Linked DNA regions of Homo sapiens: region 2 is linked to region 1. The links are contacts of gene promoters, found by promoter capture Hi-C in human tissues and cell types (Jung and others, 2019). All regions are on one chromosome and are shown on one strand. Each heading gives the region's core, a stretch centred on a gene start or on the middle of the fragment in contact. The rest is flanking DNA. Distances are from core to core; before and after follow the strand shown.

Evidence for each region. The method cuts DNA at HindIII sites, captures the fragments that hold promoters and counts their contacts. A contact is called where the count stands out against the background at its distance.
Region 2: a contact is called between a fragment that was not itself captured here and the fragment with the promoter of SHD in region 1, in 1 of the 25 tissues and cell types used here (lymphoblastoid cells).

The regions. Positions count from the first base shown.
Region 1 is chr19:4,274,708-4,282,382 of GRCh38, forward strand. SHD (Src homology 2 domain containing transforming protein D) reads left to right here and starts at 4,559. Exons shown (of 6, transcript NM_020209.4): 1 at 4,559-5,653. The coding sequence starts at 5,357. The HindIII fragment of the contact is 14,506 bases long and covers 1-7,675 here.
Region 2 is chr19:4,649,752-4,657,426 of GRCh38, forward strand. TNFAIP8L1 (TNF alpha induced protein 8 like 1) reads left to right here. Exons shown (of 2, transcript NM_152362.3): 2 at 2,116-5,817. The coding sequence starts at 2,119. The coding sequence ends at 2,679. Among named protein-coding and RNA genes, the nearest start is that of TNFAIP8L1, 14 kb to the left of the region's middle. RefSeq lists a silencer at 4,981-5,030. The HindIII fragment of the contact is 5,354 bases long and covers 2,295-7,648 here.

The DNA of each region.
Region 1 (7,675 bases), core at 3,309-5,808:
AGGAGAATCGCTTGAACCCAGGAGGCGGAAGTTGCAGTGGGCCAAGATTGTGCCACTGCACTCTAGCCTAGGCAACAGAGTGAGACTCTGTCTCAAAAAAAAAAAATAAAGATGGCTGGGTGCAGTGGCTCTCACCTGTAATCCCAAAGCTTTGGGAGACCGAGGCAGGAGGATCACTTGAGGCCAGGAATTCAAGACCAGCCTGGGCAACATTGCAAGATCCCAATTCTAGAAAAAAAGATTTTTTTTTTTCCAAGATGGAGTCTCACTCTATTGCCCACGCTGGAGTGCAGTGGCACGATCTCGGCTCACTGCAACCTCTGCCTCTCAGGTTCAAGCGATTCTCCTATCTCTGCCTCCTGAGTAGGTGGGATTACAATGTGCCTGCCACCAAGCCTGGCTAATTTTTGTATTTTTAGTAGAGACGGGGTTTCACCATGTTGGGCAGGATGGTCTCGAACTCCTGACCTCAGGTGATCCACCCGACTCAGCCTCTGCAAGTGGCGGGATTACAGGTGTGAGCCACCACACCCAGCCCTCTAGAAGAATTTTAAAAATTAAAAAACACAGGCCTGGCCAGGTGCGGTGGCTCACGCCTGTAATCCCAGCACTTTGGAAGGCCGAGGCGGGTGGATCATGAGGTCAAGAGATCGAGACCATCCTGGCCAACATGGTGAAACCCTGTCTCCACTAAAAATACAAAAATCAGCTGGGCGTGGTGGCACATGCCTGTAGTCCCAGTTACTCGGGAGGCTGAGGCAGGAGAATCACTTGAACTCGGGAGGCGGGGGTTGCAGTGAGCTGAGATCGTGCCATTGCACTCCAGCCTGGTGACAGAGCAAGCTCCGTCTCAAAAAAACAAACAAACAAACAACAACAACAACAAAAAACACAGGCCCCAGAATGGACGCAGCTTGAGGACATCACGCTCAGTGAGAAACACCAGACACAGAAGGCCACAAAGTGTGTGATCCCATTTCTATGAAATGTCCAGGACAGGCCCATCCACAGAGGCAGGAAGTGGATTTGTGTTTACCAGGAGCTGGGGATTTGGAGAGATGGGGAGTGACAGCTAATTGGGTATGAGGTTTCTTTTGGAGGTGACGAAAATGTTCAGGAATTAGGGGTGATGGTCGCACAACCTTGTGGACACAGGAGAAACCACTGAATTGTACACTCTAAATGGGTGAACTGTAGGATATGTAAGTTATGTTTTTTGTTTTTTTGAGATGGAGTCTCGCTCTGTTGCCCAGGCTGGAGTGCAGTGGCTCAATCTTGGCTCACTGCAACCTCTGCCTCCCGAGTTCAGGTGATTCTCCTGCCTCAGCCTCCCGAGTAGCTGGGATTACAGGTGCCCGCCACCACGCCTGGCTAATTTTTGTATTTTTAGTAGAGACGGGGTTTTACCATGTTGGCCAGGCTGGTCTCGAGCTCCTGACCTCAGGTCATCTGCCCACCTCAGCCTCCCAAAGTGCTGGGATTATAGGTGTGAGTCACTGCACCCAGCCAATGTGAATTGTATCTTTAAAAAAAAAAAAAGCAACAAGGCCGTGTATGGCAGCTCACTCCTGTAATCTCAGCACTTTGGGGGCGCCAAGGTGGGCGGATCACGAGGTCAGGAGTTTGAGAGCACCCTGGCCAACATGGTGGAACACCATCTCTACTAAAAATATAAAAATTAGCTGGGTGTGGTGGCGGGCGTCTGTAATCCCAGTTACTTGGGAGGCTGCGGCAGGAGAATCGCTTGAACCTGGGAGGCGGAGCTTGCGGTGAGCCGAAATTGTGCCACTGCACTTTAGCCTGGGCGACAGAGCAAGACTCGGCCTCAAAAAAAAAAAGCGGCCGGACTCGGTGGCTCACGCCTGTAATCCCAGCACTTTGGGAGGCTGAGGCGGGAGGATCACAAGGTCAGGAGATCGAGACCATCCTGGCTAACAGTGAAACCCCATCTCTACTAAAAATACAAAAAAGTAGCCGGGCATGGTGGCGGGTGCCTGTAGTCCCAGCTACTCGGGAGGCTGAGGCAGGAGAATGGTGTGAACCCGGGAGGCGGAGCTTGCAGTGAGCCGAGATCGCACCACTGCACTCCAGGCCCGGGCAACAAAGTGAGACTCTGCGTAAGAAAAAAAAAAAAGCAAAAAAAAAGCCGGGTTTTGTGGTATGCACCTGTGGTCCTAGCTACCAGGAGGCTGAGATGGGAGGATCATTTGAGCCCAGGATGTTGAATGTGAGGCTGCAGTGAGCTGTGATTGCATCTCCAGCCTGGGCAACAGAGCGAGAGACCCTGTCTCAAAAAAAAAAAAAAAAGGGAGAAAAGAAAAATCCAAATCTCACAAGGTTACGTGGCTGATTCAAGGTCACAGGGGAAGGTGACTGGACCCCTAGCCTGGATCTCTTTCTCTTCTACCTAATCCTCCTGCCTCTCCCTGCCAGCCTCTCCCCACTCCCCTCCTTGGGGTAGGGTCGGGGTGCAGCCCCAGGAGAAGCCAGCTCCAAAGCACAGGAAAGTCAAATGCCGTTTGATTCCGGCCCCGGGGCCTCTAATTGCTATTCCTGACACAGATTGTAATTAGAAGGCCCCTTTCAAATATTTATACCTCAGACATCTAGTTTTATCCGGCAGGGAGACGACTTGGATTTGATGAGATCTGTCAACAGCTCATCCCCGTGGCCCGGAATTGCCTTGCGGCTGACAGAAAGCAGGACAATTACCCGCTGTGCTCCCTGGCCGCCCCCAGGGACGCAGCCTTGTCGCTGATCTGAAAGGGTGGGGGGAAGCGGGGGTGGCCATGCACTTCAGGAGGGAGGAAGGAGTTCAACAGGTCTGTGTTGGGGGACACAGCCAGTGCAGGGAAGGGGAGGAACAGAAGGGTCTAGACGCCTGCATCCTTCAGGGGCTTTGCCTTGTTGGCTCCAGGCCTCAGTTTTCCCATCTGGATAATGGAGCTCATCGTGGAGAGGAGTTGCAGAACCGATTCCATGAAGAGCATTTTGGGAGGCCGAGGCCGGCAGATCACCTGAGGTCAGGAGTTCCAGACCAGCCTGGCCAATGTGGTGAAACCCCATCTCTACTAAAAATATAAAATTATATAAAAATTAGCTGGGCGTGGTGGCAGTAATCCCAGCTACTCAGGAGGCTGAGGCAGGAGAATTGGTTGGACCTGGGAGGTGGAGGTTTCAGTGAGCTGAGATCGCAACACGGCACTCCAGCCTGGAGGACAGAGCAAGGCTCCGTCTCAAAAAAATAAAAAGAGAGACTCCAGTGCCACCCTAGGCCAGGCCCCACGGCGATGTGCAGGCAGAATCAGCTGTGGAGTGGCTCTGAACAAGTCCCTCCCATCTCTGTGCCTCGGTTTCCCCATCCATAAAATGAGGAAGCCAGGTGATAGCTCGGTCCCTCCTGGAATCCTTCCTAGAGCTGTCTGGGATTTCCTGTTAGAAACCACATCTTTCAAATAAGGAAAACCAAGACTCAGGGAGTGACAGACCCTGCCCTCAGCCCCGCCGGGCTGCCAGGAGGCCCCAGTCATAGCAGTGTTGGTTCTGACTTCTGTCTTGTCCTCCAACTGTGCTCTCCAAGCTATGACCTGTGCCTGACCAGGGGGCTGGCCACAAGAGGAGAGAATCTGGGGTCCCATCCTTCCTGACCACCCCTCTCTCACTCCCCTCATTAGGAGGAACTGGGCAAGCCCCCTTATGGGGAAAGAAAAAAAACGGTTCTGCACTGGAAAATTGGCCAGTGGCTCCCTTTTCCTCTCCCACCCCCCAAACCTCTCAGTGCCCTCACCCTCAGACAACGACAGCTGACAACAGGCAGCCAGTTCAGGCCAGACCCCTCTCACTTCTGCCCCTCTTCCCGCCACCGCTCCCCCCCACCCCGCCCCCAGAAGCCACAAAAGGACAGATGCAGAGGACAGGCGCCAGGCACAGATACCATCTCCCTTCCCCAAGCCAGCTGCCCCCAACCCTCCCCCTGCCCGCAATTAGTCCTCTGGGGCGGGAGCGGGGCACAGAGCAGAGCCCTCTTGGGGGAGGGGAAGCCCGATCCGCACCCACCCTTCCTTTGCCCCCCTCTTCCTTCTGCTGCTCCAATATCAATTTCAGCCAGTGACCTCTCCACCAATTTGCACATCCCCACTCTCCCGGTCCGTTTCACCGCCAGACATCGGTTCCATTTCGACCCTCACTGGCGGTCATTCCCACCCCCTCTGCTGGTCAATTTCACCCCTTTTGGCGGTCAAGTGCAGTCCCCCATTTCCCGGGCAATTTCCCCCTCCCCTCCTTCTCCCTCTCCCCTCCCCTCCCCAGCAGTGTCACTCCCAGCTGCTCCCCACCTCCCGCGCTCCGCGCTCGCTGCGGCCAGTCTCGGGCGTCCCGGTCAGTGTCCAGCTGCCGCGGCCTCGGCCCCGGCGACTCCCGCCCCCAGCCCCCCTTCCCTCCGCGGGCAGCGGCTCCCTCCCTCCCCAGAACAGCTGAAGGTCTCAGTCACCTCCGAGGGGAGCGCAGGGGGAGGGGAGGGGCGGGGGACGCGGCGGAGGGGAGGTGGGGGAGCCTTGACGCTGCTGCCCGGGACGCGGCCCGGGGCTGGTGGGAACAGGGGCGTCCTCCTGCGCGCCCCCCTCCCCAGCGTCCCACCTCCCGGCGGCGGCGGGGAAAGTCTCTCCGAAAGCGTGAAGGGGGATTGGAGGAGGTTTTTATTTCCCTTTGTGCGGGTGGCTGGGGCCGGATCGAGGCGGCGGGGGCCGCGGGACTGGGGGCTCCCCGCTGAGCCGAGAGGAGCGCGACAAAGGATGCGTCCCGCCGGGGTCACAGTCTCCGCGGCCCAACTTTGCGCGCGGCGCCCGCGCCCCTGGGGAGCCCGCCCGCTGCGCTGAGAACCCAGGCGTCCGGGCTGGGAGAGGGGCCGGGAGCGTCCGCAGGTGGCGCTGGCCCGGATCTCCCGACCCCAGGAAGGGATCCCGGAGCTTCCTGGAGGCGGCGGGCGGCCGTGTCGCTCCAGGGAACCGCGCTGCCCGCGGAAACTCCGCGCGCCTCCGCGGATGCCCCTCGCCCTAGCCCCCAGCGCGCGGGGTTCGGGGCCCTGCGAGGTCCCCCCTTCCCCCGCGGTGCTTCCCAAGCTGGGCTAAGGCGGGCTTCTCTTCCTCCCTCCTCTGTCGCCTCCTTTTCCTCCCCCTCGTTCACCTTTTCCTTCCCTCTATCCATCCAGAGCCCCGCCAAAGGGCGCACCTGATCTTTCTCATCCTTCCCTGCTCTTCCCTTCCTCTCCACCTCCTCCTCCTCCTTGGGGAAAGGGGCCCGGAGAAGGGCATGTGGGGGCCCCTCTGACAGTGGCCCGATTGGGGTGACAGGCGCCCAAATGGCCAAGTGGCTACGGGACTACCTGAGCTTTGGGGGTCGGAGGCCCCCTCCGCAGCCGCCCACCCCGGACTACACCGAGAGCGACATCCTGAGGGCCTACCGCGCGCAGAAGAACCTGGACTTCGAGGACCCCTATGAGGACGCGGAGAGCCGCTTGGAGCCGGACCCCGCGGGCCCTGGGGACTCCAAGAACCCCGGAGATGCCAAGTATGGTTCTCCCAAGCACCGGCTCATCAAGGTGGAGGCTGCGGATATGGCCAGAGCCAAGGCCCTTCTGGGCGGCCCCGGGGAGGAGGTGCGTGGCTGGGTGGCCTGGGGAGACTGGGTGGAGGGGAGGCTCAGGATGGGCTCTCTGGATCGTGGAGAGCTTATTTTATGTGTGATCACAGGAGGGGACTGGGGCACCAGACAGACCCTTCCCAGTCCTCCAGACCTCCACCTGCTTGGGGAAGTCTGTTCTTTTTATGTATTTATTTATTTTGAGACAGTCTCCCCCTGTCACCCAGGCTGGAGTGCAGTGGTGGGATCTCGGCTCATTGCAACCTCCACCTCCTGGGGTTCAAGCGATTCTCCTGCCTCAGCCTCTCCAGTAGCTGAGATTACAGGTGTGTGCCACCACACCCGGCTAATTTTTGTATTTTCAGTAGAGACTGGTTTCACCATGTTAGCCAGGCTGGACTCAAACTCCTGACCTCAGGTGATCCTCCCGCCTCTGCCTCCCGAAGTGCTGGGATTACAGGTGTGAGTCACTGCGCCCGGTGGATATCTGTCCCTTTTCAATGCATAATGCTGGTTGTCCTTCTGCCTCTCTGACCACCCTGCTTGGTCTCCGGGTCCTCCTCCTCCTCCATGGTCATCCCCTGCAGTCCCCCAGCCCCCTCCCCTCAGCACCCCTTCCTCTTGGAACCTGGTGGGATCTTCCTAAAATAGATCTGAGTGAGTTGCTCCCCTGCTGGGCACCTAAATATCCTCCCGGTGATGCTGCCCTTCCTACCACTATGTTCCCGTTTTACAGAAGCGAAACTGAGGCTCGCAGAACGGTAGTGACTTGGCTAAGGTCTCACGGGGTTCTAGCTTACTAGGATTTGAACCCAGGCCACCGGGTGCAGTAGCTCATGCCTGTAATTCCAGCACTTTGGGAGGTCGAGGTGGGAGGATTGCTTGAGCCCAGGAGTTCGAGACCAGCCCGGGCTAACAGAGTGAGACCTTGTCTCTACAAAAAAAAAATCAAAACATTAGCTAGTTGTGGTGGTGCACACCATAGTCCCAGCTACTCAGGAGGCTGAGGCAGGAGGATCACTTGAGCCTAGAAGGTCAAAGCTGCAGTGAGTCATGATTGCGCCACTGCACTCCAACCTGGGTGACAGAGCAACACCCTGTCTCAAAAAAAAAAAAAAAAAAAAAAAAAAAGGCTGGGTGTGGTGGTTCACACCTGTAATCCCAGCACTTTGGGAGGCCAAGGCAGGTGGATCACCTGAGGTCAGGAGTTCCAGACCAGCCTGGCCAACACAGTGAAACCCCATCTCTACCAAAAATGCAAAAATTAACCAGGCGATGTGGCGTGCGCCTATAATCCCAGCTACTCCTGAGGCTGAGGCAGGAGAATTGCTTGAACCCAGGAGGTGGAGGTTGCAGTGAGCCAACATCGCGCCACTGCACTCCAGCCTGGGTGACAAGAGCGAGACTCTGTCTCAATAAATAAATAAATAAGAAGTAAGACGTTGGTAAGAAGAGCCAGGGACTCGAGGAAACCAGTCAGCCGGGATCAGACTCGGCCTCTTACTTACCAGCTGTGTGTCCCTAAGCAAAACACTTACTGTCTCTGTGCCTTGGCTTCCTTGTCTGGAAAAGGGGAATGGTGTACTTATTACATGTTGGTATTACAAATCAACACAGGTAAATCCTTGACAATAGTGCACGGAGAAGCACTGAAGTGGGCGAAGGAGGGAGGCAGGTGTCTGTGCTGGGGAAATGGGATCAAGACAGAGGGAGACGTGGGAAGCCAGCCGCTGTCTGCGAGCACTTTTGGGTAACAGACTCCCTCTCCAACCCCCAAAAAGAACTCTTGGAGAGGCCAGGCACTGTGGCTCATGCCTGTAATCCCAGCACTTTGAGAGGCTGAAGCGGGCGGATCATCTGAGGTCAGGAGTTGAAGACCAGCCTGGCCAACATGGTGAAACCCTGTCTCTACTAAAAATGCAAAAATTAGCCAGGTTTGGTGGCCGGCACCAGTAATTCCAGCTACTCCAGAGACTGAGGCAGGAGAATTGCTTGATCCCGGGAGTCGGAGGTTGCAGTGAGCCGAGATCACACCACT
Region 2 (7,675 bases), core at 3,722-6,221, 380 kb after region 1:
ACAGCACCCCTCTTCTGGCCTAGGCCTGTGCAGAGCCAGGGTCTGGTGACCGAGGTCGGAGGGCAGGGGCGGCCCATCCAGCAATTCCCGTGCCTGCCCTGACCTCAGAGGGCGGCCGAGGGTTTGGAACTTCTCCCGGAGTCTGAACTCACACAAAGACCGGCTTTGTGGGGGCTCCTGGGGTAGGTGGGTGCCCACATGGCATTCCAAGGCTGGCAGCCTGGCGCTGGGGTGGGAGTGGAGGCTGAGCAGGGTCTGGGGCAGTGAGAGAGACCGGGGGCGGGTCTCAGGCCCTCCCTCCTCCGCCAGTTCTTCCACACTCCCCTCTTCATTCAGCAGATGTTTCTGGAGTCTGCAGGGACACCGTGGATAAGGAATTGGGCCCATGACCTCCCCTGTGGCCTGGGGTGAGGCAGACCAGTTGGGGTGCAGAGCTGGGGAGCAGAGGAGCAATGGGGATGCCTGGGGAACCTGCGGCTCAGAGGAGGCAGAGACTTGGGGGCCAAAGTGATGGGGATGTATAGTTTACCAGGGAAGAGGCAGGGGCTTGGGGGCCAGGCTTTGGGGGGTGTATAGGAGTTCACCAGGGAGGAGATGGGGCCTTAGGGTATTGAGGTCCACAGGGAAGAGTCAGGGCTCCAAGTGAGGTGTGGAGCTTGGTCCTGGGAGCTTTGAGGAGCTGTCAGCTTGTTCTCAGCAGGTAAGGGCTATGCCCTACTCTGAGATTTAGGAAGAATTCCGGAGCTGCAGGAAGGAGGTGGGTGGAGGGGGAAGCTCCAGGGCTGGGGAAACTGGGCAGGCTACAGGGCAGGGTGGACAGAGAAAAGGAGCAGACAGGGACAGGGGGATGGTTCTGCAGTGAGAGGCCTGGCCCTTATGCCTCGAGAGCTGGCCAGGCTCTCACCTTGGCCACCTCCCCAGTCCCAGCCTGGACGGGGGCTGTCCAAGTCAATGTTTCCCTGTTGGAGGAATCATCGGAGCCATGCCTTCCCAGAAACCCCACAAATGGCCCCCTGTGAACCCATCACCCCCTGGCTCACTCGGGGCTGAAGGCCTTGGACATGCCTGTTATAAACCCTGTCGGGGGCCAGGTGTGGTGGCGGGCGCCTGTAGTCCCAGCTACTCCGGAGGCTGAGGCAGGAGAATGGCGTGAGCCCAGGAGGCGGAGCTTGCAGTGAGCCGAGATCGTGCCACCACACTCCAGCCTGGGCGACAGAGGGAGATTCCATCTCAAAAAATAGTAATAATAATAATAATAAAATAAATAAATAATAAATAAACCAACCCTGCGGGGGCAGTGGGACTGGAGGCACTGCCATAGTAATGGGGCTCCTCCACCCTGAACAGCCCCGGGTCTGGGGCTCACTTGGAACCCCACCTCATGGAGCTGTGGGGTGAGGGTGGGGAGTGTTGAGCTGGACCTAGGGGATGGAACGGAACCCCCTGTAACAATCACCTTGAGCCCCTTCTCAGCTCATAGCAAGGATATGATGGGTTTGAGGGCTGGCATCAGACCCTACAGATAGTGGGGTTCAGAAGGGCCTTCTCTGTTTGTTTATAATAATAATCATAATAATAAATACAAAATAAAATTTTTGATTTTTTTTTTTTAGAGATAGGGTCTTGTTATGTTGCCCAGGCTGGTCTCAAACTCCTGGCCTCGCAATTCTCCTGCCTCAGCCTCCCAGAGCACTGGGACCACAGGCATGAACCACAGGCTTGAATTATAGGCTGCAGTGCGGTGGCATGGTCTTAGCTCACTGCAACCTCCGCCTCCCGGGCTCAAGGGATTCTCCTGCCTCAGCCTCCCAAGTAGCGGGGATTGCGGGCACCCATCACCAAGCCTGGCTAATTTTTGTATTTTTAGTAGAGAGAAACATGGGTTTCACCATGTTTGCCAGGCTGGTCTCGCACTCCTAACCTCGATCTCAGGCGATCCGCCTGCCTAGGCATCCCAAATTGCTGGGATTACAGGCGTGAGCCACTGCGTCCGGCATGACACTTTTTAAAGAAACAAATTCCGTTAGGCCCTCTGGGGTCTGTGGTGTTGTCACCTCTTCTGTGTGAGGAGTGCCCCAACGTGCAAAACTGAGGGCTGGTCTGTGTCCCCCGCAGGCCATGGACACCTTCAGCACCAAGAGCCTGGCTCTGCAGGCGCAGAAGAAGCTCCTGAGTAAGATGGCGTCCAAGGCAGTGGTGGCCGTGCTGGTGGATGACACCAGCAGTGAGGTGCTGGATGAGCTGTACCGCGCCACCAGGGAGTTCACGCGCAGCCGCAAGGAGGCCCAGAAGATGCTCAAGAACCTGGTCAAGGTGGCCCTGAAGCTGGGACTGCTGCTGCGTGGGGACCAGCTGGGCGGTGAGGAGCTGGCGCTGCTGCGGCGCTTCCGCCACCGGGCGCGCTGCCTGGCCATGACGGCCGTCAGCTTCCACCAGGTGGACTTCACCTTCGACCGGCGCGTGCTGGCCGCCGGGCTGCTCGAGTGCCGCGACCTGCTGCACCAGGCCGTGGGTCCCCACCTGACCGCCAAGTCCCACGGCCGCATCAACCACGTGTTCGGCCACCTAGCCGACTGCGACTTCCTGGCTGCGCTCTACGGCCCCGCCGAGCCCTACCGCTCCCACCTGCGCAGGATCTGCGAGGGCCTGGGCCGGATGCTGGACGAGGGCAGCCTCTGAACCCCGGCGCCGCCCAACCGCGCCCCTCGCGCCTTTTGGGGCTCTCCTGCTGGGCGCGGGTGGGGTTTGTGGGTTTTTTTCCACCTCTTTTCTCCCAATCGGACTCCGGCCAAACTCCCCTAGACAGATGGGTGACCTGTCTCCTTTGAGAGGATGCTGAGGCATCTGTAGCAGCTGTTTCAAACACCAATGTCACCTCTCCTCCTGGCCCCCGCCCAATGGGGAGAGGAATTTGGGGCCCTACTCTGGGGACCACCTTTCACCCGTTTGTACTTTCTGGGCCACGCCGACCCCTGGGTCGCTTGATGTAAAAGCCAAAAGCTGCTGCCTCCCACTTGGATCATGTCGCCTGGGATTTTCATCCCTCGCACAAGGACTACGGGTTCACACGGTGAACTGGGGGAAGGGAAGTGTTAGGGGGCAAGTCGCGGCACCCCCCCTTCCATAAACTCACGTCCTAACCCCCAGGACCTCAGAAGATGATCTGATTTGGAAATAGGATCATTACAGATGGAATTAGTTCAGATGATCTCATCTTGGAGTAGGGTGGGCCCCAATTCAAGGACTGGGGTCCTTAAAAAAAGGGGGCCTGGGGCAGGGCGCGGTGGCTCACGCCTGTAATCCCAGCACTTTGAGAGGCTGAGGCGGGCGGATCACGAGGTCAGGAGATCGAGACCATCCTGGCTAACACGGTGAAACCCCATCTCTACTGAAAATACAAAAAATTAGCTGGGCATGGTGGCACATGCCTGTAGTCCCAGCTACTCGGGAGGCTGAGGCAGGATAATCACTTGAACCAGGAGGAGGAGGTTGCAGTGAGCCGAGATTGTGCCACTGCACTCCAGCCTGGGTGACAGAGCAAGACTCTGTCTCAAAAAAAGAAGCGGGGGAGTGGGGGATTGAGGCCACGTGCAGTGGCTCACTACTCTAATTCCAGCACTTTGGGAGGCCGAGGCAGGAAGATTGCTTGAACTCAGAAGTTCAAGACCAGTCTGGGCAACATGGTGAGACCCTCGTCTCTACAAAAAAAAAATTATCGTGGTGGGCCGGGCGTGGTGGCTCACACCTGTAATCCCAGCACTTTGGGAGGCTGAGGCGGGCAGATCACAAGGTCAAGAGATCGAGACCATCCTGGCCAACATGGTGAAACCCCGTCTCTACTAAAAATACAAAAATTAGCCGGGCATGGTGTTGCGTGCCTGTAGTCCCAGCTACTTGGGAGGCTGAGGCAGGAGAATCGCTTGAACCTGGGAGGCGCAGGTTGCAGGGAGGCGGAGGTTGCAGTGAGCCGAGATTGCACCACTGCACTTCAGCCTGGTGACAGAGCGAGACTCGTCTCAAAAAAAAAAAAAAAAAAAAAAAAAAAAGTGACTGTGGTGGTGCACACGTATAATCCCAGCTACTTGAGAGATGACGAGGGAAGATCACTTGAGCCCAGGAGTTAAGAGGCTGCAGTGACCGATGATCATGCCACTGCACTCCAGCTTGGGTGAGAGTGGGACTCTGTCTTAGAAAGAAAAAAAAAAGTATTTGGACACAGACATGCATGCAAGGAAGGCCAATGATGCCGGCCACCACCAGGAGCTGGGAGAGGCCCAGGGCAGATCCCCTTCAGCCTTGGAGGGACCTAGCCCTGGCCACACCTTCATCTCAGACTTGCGGCCCAGAGAACTGAATGAGAATAAATGTGCGTGAAGCCCCTCAGTCCACAGGATGTGGTACTGGAAGCCCCCACTCAAGAAGGCTCCAGTGAATGCTGGCACGTTCAGCCAGGATGCCTCCGTGAAGCTGGAGACCTCTGCCCTGGGTCGGGAGGGGAAACTGCTCCAATCCAGGGACTGCCACATGGGAGGGGACGGAGCGTGCCCACCTCCCAGGGGTGAGGGGGGACCCACCTGAGATGTGTGCACATTTTATTTATTTATTGTTTTGAGACAAAGTCTCGCTGTGTCACCCAGGCTGGAGTGCAGTGGTGAAATCTCGGCTCATTGCAGCCCCTTCCTTCCAGGCTCAAGTGATCCTCCCACCTCAGCCCCGGGTAGCTGGGACTACAGGTGTGCACGAGCACACCCGGCTAATCTTTGTATTTTTTGTAGACAGAAGGTCTCACCATGTTGCCCAGGATGGTCTCGAACTCCTGGGCTCAAGCGACCTACCTACCTCGGCCTCACAAAGTGTGCACATTGTAATATCGTGATTTCATATTTGGAGAATCAGCAACCAACCAGCCAACCATGTTGCTTTTATAAGACAGAGCTGAGAAAGCAAAGCTTGGCTGTCGTCTTGGCTCTGGTACCACCCACGAGATGCGGGCGATTCTCAGCTCAGGGCGTGGAGGCGTGGTGTGGGGGAGTCTATTTGCCATTTTTGTTTGTCAGCAGGGGGCAGGGGTTCTCAAAGATTGCAAAATGCTGCTGCAGGTCAGGAAGGTTATTTTGGGTGCCTGTGGGGGAGGTGAAACAAGGTCCCATGACTGTTTTGCAGAACCTTGTCTGTGGAGGGTAGAGGTTGCGGCAGGGGCCTGTGGGCCTTACTTGGTGAGAAGGTAGGTCTAGCTGGCTCCATTCAGTATTTGAGACATTTGGAATTTGTCTGCATTTAAAACCAAGAGATCACACACACCTGTCTGGATTTGGAGTTTCTCTTGAAAACTCGCCAGTCCGGCCGTCTGAGCCTGCACTGACGCCTGGTGAAGCTGTGCAGGGGCCGCCCCTCTCCCTTTCACCACAGTCCTCTCCACTCCCTTTCGCCTCTCCCTGGCCTGCTGCACTCACTGATAGGAAATTCTGACCCCAGACTCGGAGCAGCCTTCCCGTGGTTCGGTTTTTGCTTCCGCGAAAAAGCCAAAGGCCTTGGCCAGAGAGCCAGCTGTTCCTACCTCTACCCCACGCTTCCAAGGCAACCTTCTCCACTTATCTTAGGCCGAGAGACAGCTCTTCAAGAACGTACATGGATCCTGATTTTCTCACGAAGTCCCGATGGAACCCTGTGCTGTTGAGACATCAGTGTGTAAAACTCTCTGTGTCCCTGTTGGGCTGTCCAGACAGTCTGGACTCTTGTAAATTTGAGATTTAATTAAAGGAAACAAACCAAATAGGACTGCGGAACAATTTAAATAAAAGCACACACCAGCCTGGGCGCAGTGGCTCATGTCAGTTAAACCTAGTGCTTTGGGAGGCCGAGGCAGGAGGATCACTTGAGCCAAGGAGTTCAAGACCACCCTGGGCAACATAGCGAGACCCTATCTCTAAAAATATATATATATAAGGCCAAGTGCAGTGGCTCACGCCTGTCATCCCAGCACTTTGGGAGGCTGAGGCAGGCAGATCACCTGAGGTCAGGAGTTCAAGACCAGCCTGGCCAAGATGGTGAGACCCCATCTGTACTAAAAAGTACAAAAATTAGCTGGGCATGGCGGCGGGTGCCTGTAATCCCAGCTACTTGGGAGGCTGAGGCAGGAGAATCACTTGAACCTGGGAGGCGGAGGTTGCAGTGAGATGAGATCGTGCCACTGCATTCCAGCCTGGGCAACAGAGTGAGACTTGGTCTCAGAAACAGAATAAAAAAATAAAAAATTATAGCCAGTCAGGGTGGCATGCACATGTGGTCCCAGCTATCTGGAAGGATGGCTTGGACCCAGGAGGTTGAGGCTGCGGTGAGCCGAGATCGCACCACTGCACTCCAGCCTGGGTGATGGAGCAAGATCCTGTCCAAAAAAAAAAAAAAAAAGCACACATATGCACACGTAAGGTCAGAGGGGAAGCTCCTGTGTGTCCCGAGATGCCCTGATGTATGCTGGTGCATCAGGCCACCCGGGCATCATCCTTGATGACAGCCAGGGATCCAGAAGCTGTGGGCGAATCCCAGCTGACCAGGAGAGAGTCCCCCTACCTTGGCCAGGGTACTGGTGGTAGGCACTGTTTCCCACGGCCTTTTCTGCACAGGAGGCCCTGGCAACCCTGTCGTGCTCATCTTCTGGGCCCCGTGGAGCCTCAGAGTCAAGAGCTGGAAAGCCTCCTGGCCTTGGCGGGGGGGTCTTCAGACCTCAGAGCACTGCCATTCTTGGTCTAGGGGCCCTTCCCGCTGATGTGTGCGGCCGTCAGTCCTTTCCTCATGTGGTGGCATCAAGTGTGTGCTGGGAAGTCAAGGCTGGCTGGTTCTTTTTCTTTTGAGACAAGGTGTCACTCTGTGGCCCAGGCTGGACTGCAGTGGCGCGATCTTGGCTCACTGCTGCCTTGGACTCCTGGGTTCAGGCGATTCTCCTGCCTCAGGCTCCTGAGTGGCTGGGATTACAGGTGTGCCCCACCACACCTGGCTAATTTTAAAATTATTTATTTTTTGGTAGAGATGGGGGTCTTGCTATGTTGCCTAAGCTGGTCTTGAACTCCTGGTGTCAAGAGATTCTCCCACCTTGGCCTCCCGAAGTGCGGGGATTCACGGGCGTAAACCATCCTGTCTGGTCTGTTTTTGTTTTTTAGTCACTGTTGCAACCCAGCTTCAAAAAACTACGGGAGGCTGGCCACAGTGGCTCATGCCTGTAATCCCAGCACTTTGGGAGGCCGAGACAGGTGGATTGCTTGAGCTCAGTTCGAAACCAGCCTGAGCAACATGGCAAAACGCTGTCTCTATCAAAAGAAGATGCAAAAATTAGCCGGGCATGGTGGCGTGTGCCTGTAGTCCCAGCTACTTGGAAGGCTGAGGTGGCAAGATCGCTTGAGCCCAGGAGGTGGAGGTTGCAGTGAGCCGTGTTACACCACTACACTTCAGCCTGGGTGACAGGAGAAGACCCTGTCTCAAAAGAAAAACAAACTAAGGGAAACCAATGCCCCAGGCTGCAGAGAGCAGGTCGGCCTTGGAACATCCTCCCGCGCTGGGGCCTGTGGCAGCCACAGAAACCCGGGTGTGAATTCACAACATGTGGGGGACCCAGGGACAGCGAGTGCCAAGGGGGGAAGGGGGCAAGTTCACATACAGCCACCTTGGGATCTAGCGCTTT